Linked DNA regions of Homo sapiens: region 2 is linked to region 1. The links are contacts of gene promoters, found by promoter capture Hi-C in blood cells and fetal thymus (Javierre and others, 2016). All regions are on one chromosome and are shown on one strand. The core of a region is centred on a gene start or on the middle of the fragment in contact, and the rest is flanking DNA. Distances in the headings are between cores, read along the strand shown.

The links. Contacts are between HindIII fragments. The CHiCAGO score rates a contact against its expected background, and 5 or more counts as called.
Region 2: a contact is called between a fragment that was not itself captured here and the fragment with the promoter of GRK5-AS1 in region 1, in 1 of 17 cell types (naive CD8 T cells). The highest score is 5.8, in naive CD8 T cells.

Annotation. Positions count from the first base shown.
Region 1 is chr10:119,337,554-119,342,177 of GRCh38, forward strand. It overlaps GRK5-AS1 (GRK5 antisense RNA 1), which reads right to left and starts at 1,767. Exons shown (of 2, transcript XR_946357.4): 1 at 1-1,767. All of the region lies in intron 2 of GRK5 (G protein-coupled receptor kinase 5), which reads left to right. RefSeq lists enhancers at 3,147-3,740, 3,741-4,333. The HindIII fragment of the contact is 14,954 bases long and covers 1-4,624 here.
Region 2 is chr10:119,571,843-119,576,500 of GRCh38, forward strand. It overlaps TIAL1 (TIA1 cytotoxic granule associated RNA binding protein like 1), which reads right to left. Exons shown (of 12, transcript NM_003252.4): 12 at 1,623-3,949. The coding sequence ends at 3,823. Among named protein-coding and RNA genes, the nearest start is that of TIAL1, 23 kb to the right of the region's middle. The HindIII fragment of the contact is 6,967 bases long and covers 1-4,658 here.

The DNA of each region.
Region 1 (4,624 bases), core at 517-3,016:
CCCTGTCTTCACCTTCACTCGGTCTTCTACCTGTGTGAATGTCTGTCTCTAAGTTTCCCCCCCACTTTTTTCTCTTTTTTTTTGAGACAGAGTTTTGCTCTTGTTGCCCAGGCTGGAGTGCAATGGCACGATCTCAGCTCACTGCAACCTCCACCTCCCGGGTTCAAGCAATTCTCCTGCCTCAGCCTCTCGAGTAGCTGGGATTACAGGCACCCGCCACTGTGCCCGGCTAATTTTTTTTATATTTTTAGTAGAGACGGGGTTTCACCAGGTTGCCAGGCTGGTTTTGAACTCCTGATCTCAGGAGATCCTCCTGCCTTGGCCTCCCATAGTATTGGGAGTACAGGCGTGAGCCACCACACCTGGCCAAGTTTCCCCTTTTTCATGAGGACACCACTCATATTGGATTAGGGCCCACCCTAATGACCTCATTTTAACTTGATTATCTCTGTAGCAACGCTCTTTCCAAATAAGGTCACGTTCTGAGGTAATGGGGATTAGGACTTCAGTGTATCTTCTTTAGGGGATCCAGTTGAACCCATAACATATTCACGTGCTCATGTGGTCTGGTGGAGTTAAAGGTAGAGGGGTCAGGGATCCTGATTCCCACCGGGTCTGAGGGTGGACACTCCTTCTCTCCTGAGCCTGGTGGGGAGTTAACCACTGCAGTCCCAGGCTGCTCACTTCCCCAGTGGACCACAGGAATGTCTGTGGGAGGAGCAATTGTTTTCCAGGCCATGTTGCAGCTTTTTCAATCTCCCTGTTTGTTATTGGTTAAGTCATAGTAATTGGTAAATTATTTTGCTAAAAAACACAGAAAATTATAAGGAAAGAAAGTCACCGCTAATTTTACATCTCAGACAGAGCCATAGTTAACGCCTTCATGTAATTTCTTCTAGCTTTTTTCCCCATACATATACATGTGGTTTTGTTTCTTACCTCTTTTCTTAACATAGTATCAAAAATGTTTTCCCTTGTCATTAAAATCTTCATAAATGTGATGTACATTTTTCCATTTGATGCATATTTAGTGAGTGTCAGGCATGGTGGATACATCAGTGAGCAAAGTGCAAAACTTCCCATCTCATGGGCTGCCCTCCTGCAGGTGAAATGACATACTGGGCCATTGGGAGCTCACCTAGTACCCTCAACCCAGCATCCACCCAGGCCCCCGGTCTCTCCCAACCTATGGCTTACTTCCTGTTGGTGAATTCTTCCTTTAAGCGATCTTGAAAATAAGCCCTTGCTTATTTTCAAATGAATAAATGTGAACCCAGAATAAATGTGATTTGTAAAGTTCTCATAACTATCACATGTATATATTCTACTATTTGGGTTTTTTCCACCTAGTTTTTGCCATTACAATTAATGTTCAAATGAACATCTTTGTACTTCATTGTGACATTTTGATCTATGGCTCAAAGTAAGAAAGTCCACTGTCTTTTTGAAGGCCAGAACACAGCAGCCTGTACAGTGCTGTTTGCTTCCTCTGGAATGTTCTTTTCATTTCCAGCTTTGCACTTGCATCCACAGACACCATTAACCTGAAATGTGATGGGGATGGACAAAGTGGATGATGTTTGGCGAGCGGCCTCTGCCTGGCTTGCCTGCCTCGGTTCACTGCAGTCAGCAGGTGTGAGAAGGATTTTTCTGTCTATTTTAAGGCCCCTCACTGAAAATGGGAAAAACAAGCTCGTTTGTGCGGGGGACCTCAAGCCAACACAAGAGCCCAGCCACCCTGCAGCAGCCTGAGCGTGACAGCGTTCTGCCCCATAAAGAGATGCTAGGAAAACACTTTTAATGGTCTCTGCCTAGACTCTGTTTACGGAATTTATTTGCCAGAGCTCAGGCCATTCAGCAGTACCTTGGCAGCAGGGCCCAGCAAAGCTGCAACTCCTGTCTCCCCTCCACGTCTGCCTGGGTGTATTAAACCCCCTTGTTCTGAACACCCCAGAGCTAGTACCCGAAAGGCAGGAGTGGGGGGTTGCAGGGAAGAAAAGCCATGGGTTGTAGGATATTTGGGGCCAATATAAACTTCCAAATTCAAAAACAAAAACTAGCTAGGCTCGGTGGCTCACTCCTATAATCCCAGCACTTTGGGAGGCAGAGGCATGTGGATCGCTTGAGCTCAGAGTTCAAGATCAGCCTGGGCAACATGGCGAAACCTAGTCTCTACTAAAAATACAAAAAATTAGTCAGGCTTGGCAGTGTGAGCCTGTAGTTCCAGCTACTTGGGAGGTTGAGGCAGGAGAAATTGCATGAGCCAGGGAGGCAGAGGTTGCAGTGAGCTGTGATCACACCATTGCACTCCAACCTGGGCGATGGGAGTGAAACTCTGTCTCTATTAAACAAAAACAAAACCAACAACCAAAGAACAACACAAAATTACCCTCCAAAGAGCTAGGGGCATGAGCTACTGTTGGCTGCTAGCTGTGGCCGTTTCCAGCCAGCAGTAGAAAGGAAGATGTAAAATCCTGAAGCATTTTGAGTACTGCTTTGTTTTTTTTCTTTCCTGTTTGACGATTGATGCTGAACCATCTTTAAAGTGTGGTTTTTTTGTTTGTTTGTTTGTTTTGTTTTGTTTTGTTTTTTGAGACAGAGTCTCACTCCGTCACCCATTCTGGAGTGCAGTGATGCAGTCTCACTCACTGCAACCCCCGCCTCCTGGGTTCAAATGATTCTCATGCCTCAGCCTCCCAAGTAGCTGGGATTACAGGTGTGCGCCACCACGCCCAGCTAAATTTTGTATTTTTAATAGAGACAGGGCTTTGCCATATTGGCCAGGCTGGTCTTGAACTCTTGGCCTCAAGTAATCTGCCCACCTCAGCCTCCCAAAGTGGCTGGGATTACAGGTGTCAGCCACCATGCCCAGCCCCAAAACTTACTTTTAATTCCTTTTCTCATTACAAAAATAATATATGTCAATGGTTGCAATTTCCAAAACAATTTTAAAAGGGGAAAATAAAAACTGCCAATGAGATAAGGATAAACACTGTTAACACTTTGGTCTGTTGCCCTTTTGTAGTTTGTTCTGCTTCTAGGGAGAGAATTGTACCAGCCTCGACTATCATCTTCCTTGCCCAGACATCAGATATCATTTAAAATGGAAACCTGTGGGTTGTAGAATCCCCCTTGGACTGGGAGGCAGAAGACCCAGTTTCTTGTGTTACCACTTGGTCCTGTGGCCTTGGGAAAGCCACTTAACCTTGATTTGCTCGTCTTTAAAATGGGGACTCAGTATTCCTCACCTTAGCAGATGGAGTGGCCAAAGGTGTTTCTGGCAGAGAGTGCTTTGCAAAGTGCTGTGCAAATTGCTGGCCAGTTTTGATGTGGGTGTGTGAGCCTTTGGTTGGACAAATGGCCAGAGTAGTTTTCCTGTCTTCTTGGGGGAACTGTGACCCTTTCTCGTAAAGCTGTTCTGTCTCTGATCCTGGTGAACATCACCAGCTTCCTCTAGCTGCCCAGAGCTGCCCCTCCCCTCTGCCCTGCCGTGTGGCACCTGGCCCAGTGCAGTGTCCAGTCCCTCTCCAGGTCCCGATGCCTCGGCCTCCACAGTATCTCCTAGTCTGCCCCTCTCGCCCCATCTCCACCATTTCCACTTGATCCTTGTCCCTGCCTGAACTCCTGTGTCAGCTCCTTGCTCCCTCCAGGCGCACCTACTTCCAACCAAGCTCCATGCAGCAGCCAGGAGGCTCTTTCTGAAATGTCAGTCTGCTCTCGCCACCACCTGCTTCAGTAGCTTTCCACTGCTGTCAGGACAGAGTCCAGAGGTCTTGCTGAAGCTGACCAGGCCCGGCCTCTCCGCCCTTGCTGACTGCTTCAGCTTCACCCCTGCCGCTCATCTCCTGACTTAGCCATTCCTTCATGTTTCTTCTTTTCTCCAGGCCTTTGCCTGGGCTGTTCCCTCTGCTGGATACACTTCCCTAACCCTGCTTGGTAATCAACTCAACCTTAGTCCCCTGCTTCATAGGTCACCTCCTCCAGGAAGCCCTCCCTGGTGACCTCACCTAGTCAGGGTTTGCTCCCCACCCTCATGCTGCCACTGGCCCCACTGTGGTTGTCTGATGACTCACCTTTGTCTTCTGTTTGGCTGTGGGCTCTGTGAGAGTAGAGCCTGGGTCTGCCTGACTGTGTTTTGCCAGCACCCAGCATGAGTGTCTACCCTGTACCAGGCACTTGTAGAATCTTGTTTAGATATTTTGTTCTCCCCTGGAGATGGAAAAACACTCAATCTTCCCAAGTGTTAGACTGATTGCTGATGGGTCTTATTTTTCTCTCTGAGTTCTTTTAAGAGTCCTGGAAATGTGGACTGAGAACAGCTGTCGCATGTCAGTTCCGAAGTAGCCGCTTTTATCAGAAACGGTTTAGAGAGAGATTCCTAGTTGCACCTCCCGCCAAGGGCAGTGACCCCACTTTTCTCTCCCCTTGCAGGCCCCTATCCGACCTCAATGGGAGGCGTGGGAGAGTTATGGGGAGTACATCCCACCGGCACAGCTGTCATGTCAGCCCTGTCTGGCTGCCGGAGTTCGACTGGTCAGGCGAGATGGGCACAGGCACGGCTCTGCTAAAGGCCTTGGCTGAGCCCAGCTTGGGGCAGAGCAAGCCACTGAGAATGGCTTTGCCA
Region 2 (4,658 bases), core at 445-2,944, 230 kb after region 1:
TGTTGTTTACAGCTTTGGCTTAAGTTGGCCATTTTAGCCTCTCACTGCCAGCAGACATAAAAATCAAGTGGGAATGGCACGGGGGTTGGGAGTGAAAATACTAGTAGAGAAATTATGAGAACAAAGAATATGGCAGTCAGTCAGAAACACATCACCAAAATAAATCTCAAAATAATTATGAAATAAAAAACATTTCCTTGCATGCCCAAAAAGTCTCTGCTGATGTTTTTGATGAACGGGGTGGGGAGCAACGATTCTTAGGCTTAAGTTGGATCAAGATAGCATTGGGTCATGTTATAAAATCATCTGTTAGCTCAACAGCCATACTTTTAATTAATTCATTTATTTTTTGAGATGGAGTCTCGCTCTGTCGCCCAGGCTGGAGTGCAGTGGCGCATTTTCAGCTCACTGCAACCTCCACCTCCCAGGTTCAATTCTCCTGCCTCAGCCTCCCAAGTCACTGGGACTACCAGCGCCCACCAGCACGCCCAGCTAATTTTTTTGTTATTTTTAGTAGAGATGGGGTTTCACCATGTTGGCTGGGCTGGTCTCAAACTCCTGACCTTAGGTGATCCACTACCCGCCTCAGCTTCCCAAAGTGCTGGGATTACAGGTGTGAACCACCATGCCCGGCAACAGTTGCACTTTTTTTTTTTTTGAGACGGAGTCTTGCTCTATTTCCCAGGGTGGAGTGCAATAGCACAATCTTGGCTCAGGGCAACCTCCGCCTCCTGGGTTCAAGAGATTCTCCTGCCTCAGCCTCCTGAGTAGTTGAGACTACAGGCACGGGCCACCACGCTTAATTTTGTATTTTTAGTGGAGACAGGGTTTCATCATGTTGGTCAGGCTGAGCCACTGCGCCCGGCCCAGTTGTAGTTTTTAAATGGTACATTTCATTTGGATAAGTAGCTTTGTATTTTAAAAACCACTTAATGGCCAGGTGCAGTGGCTCACGCCTGTAATCCCAGCACCTTGGGAGGCCGAGGTGGGTGGATCACGAGGTCAGGAGATTGAGACCATCCTGGCCAACATGGTGAAACCCTGTCTCTACTAAAAATACAAAAATTTACTAGACATGGTGGCATGCATCTGTAGTCCAGCTACTCGGGAGGCTGAGGCAGGAGAATAGCTTGAACCCAGGAGGCGGAGGTTGCGGTGAGCCGAGATTGCACCACTGCACTCCAGCCTGGCGACAGGGCAAGACTCCGTCTCAAAAAAAAAAAAAAAAAAAAGCCAGACACCGTGGCTCACGCTTGTAGTCCCAGCACTTTGGGAGACTGAGGCGGGCGGATCACGAGGTGAGGAGATCGAGACCATCCTGGCCAACATGGTGAAACCCCCATCTCTACTAAAAACACAAAAAAATTAGCTGGGCATGGTGGCACGTGACTGTAATCCCAGCTACTCAGGAGGCTGAGGCAGGAGAATCGCTTGAATCTGGGAAGCAGAGGTTGCGGTGAGCCAAGTTCTCATCACTACATGTACTCCAGCCTGGCGACAGAGCAAGACTCCATCTAAAAAAAAAAAAAAAAAAAAACCACTTAATATGAAATAACTTCCATTAACTGATCATGAAATTTTGCCCTCTTTCAGATTAAGATGAAGGACACTTCAGTCACATGTTTACTGTGGCAATATAACTAGTCTGGATAATTTTATTAAATCATAGAATATACAGTCAGGAAACACTACAGCTATATTTAGCTGTTAGTTATCTCAATAAGCTACTTAATTTACTGGCAGACCAAAACAGGCATACTAAGCATTTTTATCAATTAAAAAAAGTCTTCAGTTGTTCAAGTTTCACATATACTCATAAAATTTTTAACTCGGGGGCACAGTTAACATAATTTATTGAGTGTTCTCCCTATAAAATATAAATTAACTTTTCCAAAAACATTCCTCAAAGATACTATAAACAAAAGAAATAAGGGTATATTTTATAACAGAAGAGTGTAATAGATGACCATTATGGTAAAACTAAGGTGCCATAAAAAATTTGGCCCAGCTATGAATTTCAGACCCTATGAATTTTTATGTTGAATACATTTGGCTATATTGCTAAGTGGGAAAAGGAGGAAAGTAATACCAAAATTATTGTGACCACCAATTTATAAAATCATTATTTTAAAGCTAATCGTAAAACTTCAAATGTTTAGAAAACAGTAATTTGTGGGTACTAATCGCATCTTACTATGTAACTGTAAAAGGCTATTTTCTCTTTGGTGCCCAGGCCAGCATTTTGAATACATTGCCAAAACATTTGCACTCCCTAGCTCTGACAATTCAAATACATAGGATTTTATCTATTTTACATTCCTGTTTGATAGAAATTTGAGGCAAATTTTACCCACACAGCCTGAAAAATACCTTGAAAGCAAACCTCGGTCTTCTGCATCTTCCAATTGATTCCTTTACAAACTCTGCACACATACAACTTAAGCCTCTGCTCAGGCTTATTATACCATGCACACTGCCCACAAGGAAAAAAATTAATTGAAAATAAAAGCCACAACTCTGTGTACTATTTAAACTGAATATCCAATTATAAATTGGTACATTGAAGTGTCTAAATAAGATGTTTTTAGCAATCTTGTTAAAAAAATTCTTGGGCAAAATATATCTTAATTTTTAAAAACACCCCAAGATTTTTAAAAAACACTTGTACTATACAACTTATAGTAACCTTGAAATTGGTTTACAAGGTTTTAATCAAGGTATTTACATACCAAGTAATGTAAAGCAAAAAAAAAAAAAAAAAAAAACAAAAACAAAAAACTAATTCCCAATGACATTTTAGAACATACTAATGCATCAAAGATTGTATGAAATTAAAATTAAGGCTTTTTCTGCACAATTTGTGTAATTTTAATTTTACATAGTAGCCAACCTTGGAAATGTCAGTCTTAACATTCTGATCAATCCACTGCATTCAATGCAGCGGAGTGTGTTAAGTGTTACTTCAAATAATTACATTGCTGCTACTTCTATGTTGAAGCATGCTTTTTAAACACTGTAGTTATTGAATATTTACAATATGTATCATTTAAACTTCATGTAAAAGCACAAGTATGACTGTCTGACTTCAATACAAACACCATACTTGGATTTCCCCCCAAAATGAAATGTAAAATACTACAATTTTAATAATCGACACTTTTGGAAGTTTTAAAAATATGTCTTAACGTGGACCACCAACATTTGCTCAAGTAACTCAAACAATGCTGTTCCTTTTTTAGGGTGCAAAACTTCAGTCTGGCTTCAGTTTCTTTAGGCATAGAGAAAGAAAATATTTCCTCCAAAGCGACTCCAAAATCACGCATTTCTTCTGAATATCACACTTTTTCTCTGCTGACTTCAAATGTGGTCCACCTCAGGGAAGGGGAGGGGAGTATCAGGATTCAGGATGAACTTATATGTGATTCCCAGGTTTTCACGATCCTCCCTTTTTTGCTCTTTTAAAAACACAGTGAGTTAAAATACTGAACAGCAAGATAAAAATGGAATAGTATCTAAGAATCAAAATGTATTAGCCATTTTTCCTATTATATCAAAATTTGTAGTCAGAATTGTCTTTATTGACTTTATTTTAGTTTTTGTACATAAAGAAAAATCATGTTCATATCCATCATGAACAAAAACTTAAAAAGGCAGAACTAGAAGACACGTGTCCTTCACCAAAGCAAATCTGTGCTAAAGGTTCCAAACATTTCAATTTTTAAAATAAATATTTTCATTTTCCGATGTCTACTTTCATGTCTTCAGAGTGTCACAGGAAATCGAAGCCTATCATGAATTACAATTTTTTTTTAGAGTCCCGGCTCACTGTGTTTGGTAACTTGCCATACCATATCCGGCTTGGTTAGGAGGAGGTATTACAGGGGGAGGAGCTTGTCCTTGGGGAGGCTGAGCACCAAATCCACCCATCCAAGCAGCAGAAGGTGATTGACTTGGAAGAAAAAGAAAAAATCTTCAGCAAACACAAGAAAAAAAAAATCACATATGTATTTACACAAAAATCAAGCAGAGCCTAATCACAGAATAGAAAACCAGAAATCAACACACCTACAACAAATAGAAAGATCAAAGAAATAAATGATATATGTGTAGAATACATATTCCAGTATTAGTCTTTGATATTTTTAAGATAACCACAACTTAACACACTGATGTCTGAGGAGTATCTGCAAACTAATTTTTTAAAAATTGTGAATGATTCAACACATCATCTATTACATAAGAAATTTTAAAAACAAGTTCATGTTGGAAACAGTCTCAAAGGAAGAAATCTGAAAATAAAGCTATGGGCTGGCCCTGGGCAGGGGAATTACAAAGGAGGAAACCACTCTATCAACAAAAGAAAAAAAAAAAAAAAAAAGGCCAGTTACTTTGTATCACACAAACCTCAGATTTCTCACACATACCACATAGGCATAAAACCATCAAACTTTTGAATATATCTGGACAAAGATCTTTTACATGCAAAAATAAATAAAAGTGTATCAGAAATGTAAATCAAATTCTACCAACTGCTTACAGGGATCATAGGACACACTAAATGTTACCCCAATCCCCCCTTTCCACCTAGGTAATGAGAAGTAATTTCTTAGCCTCATAAATCATATTTTGTTAGATTAGTTTCTATAATGCTCATAATG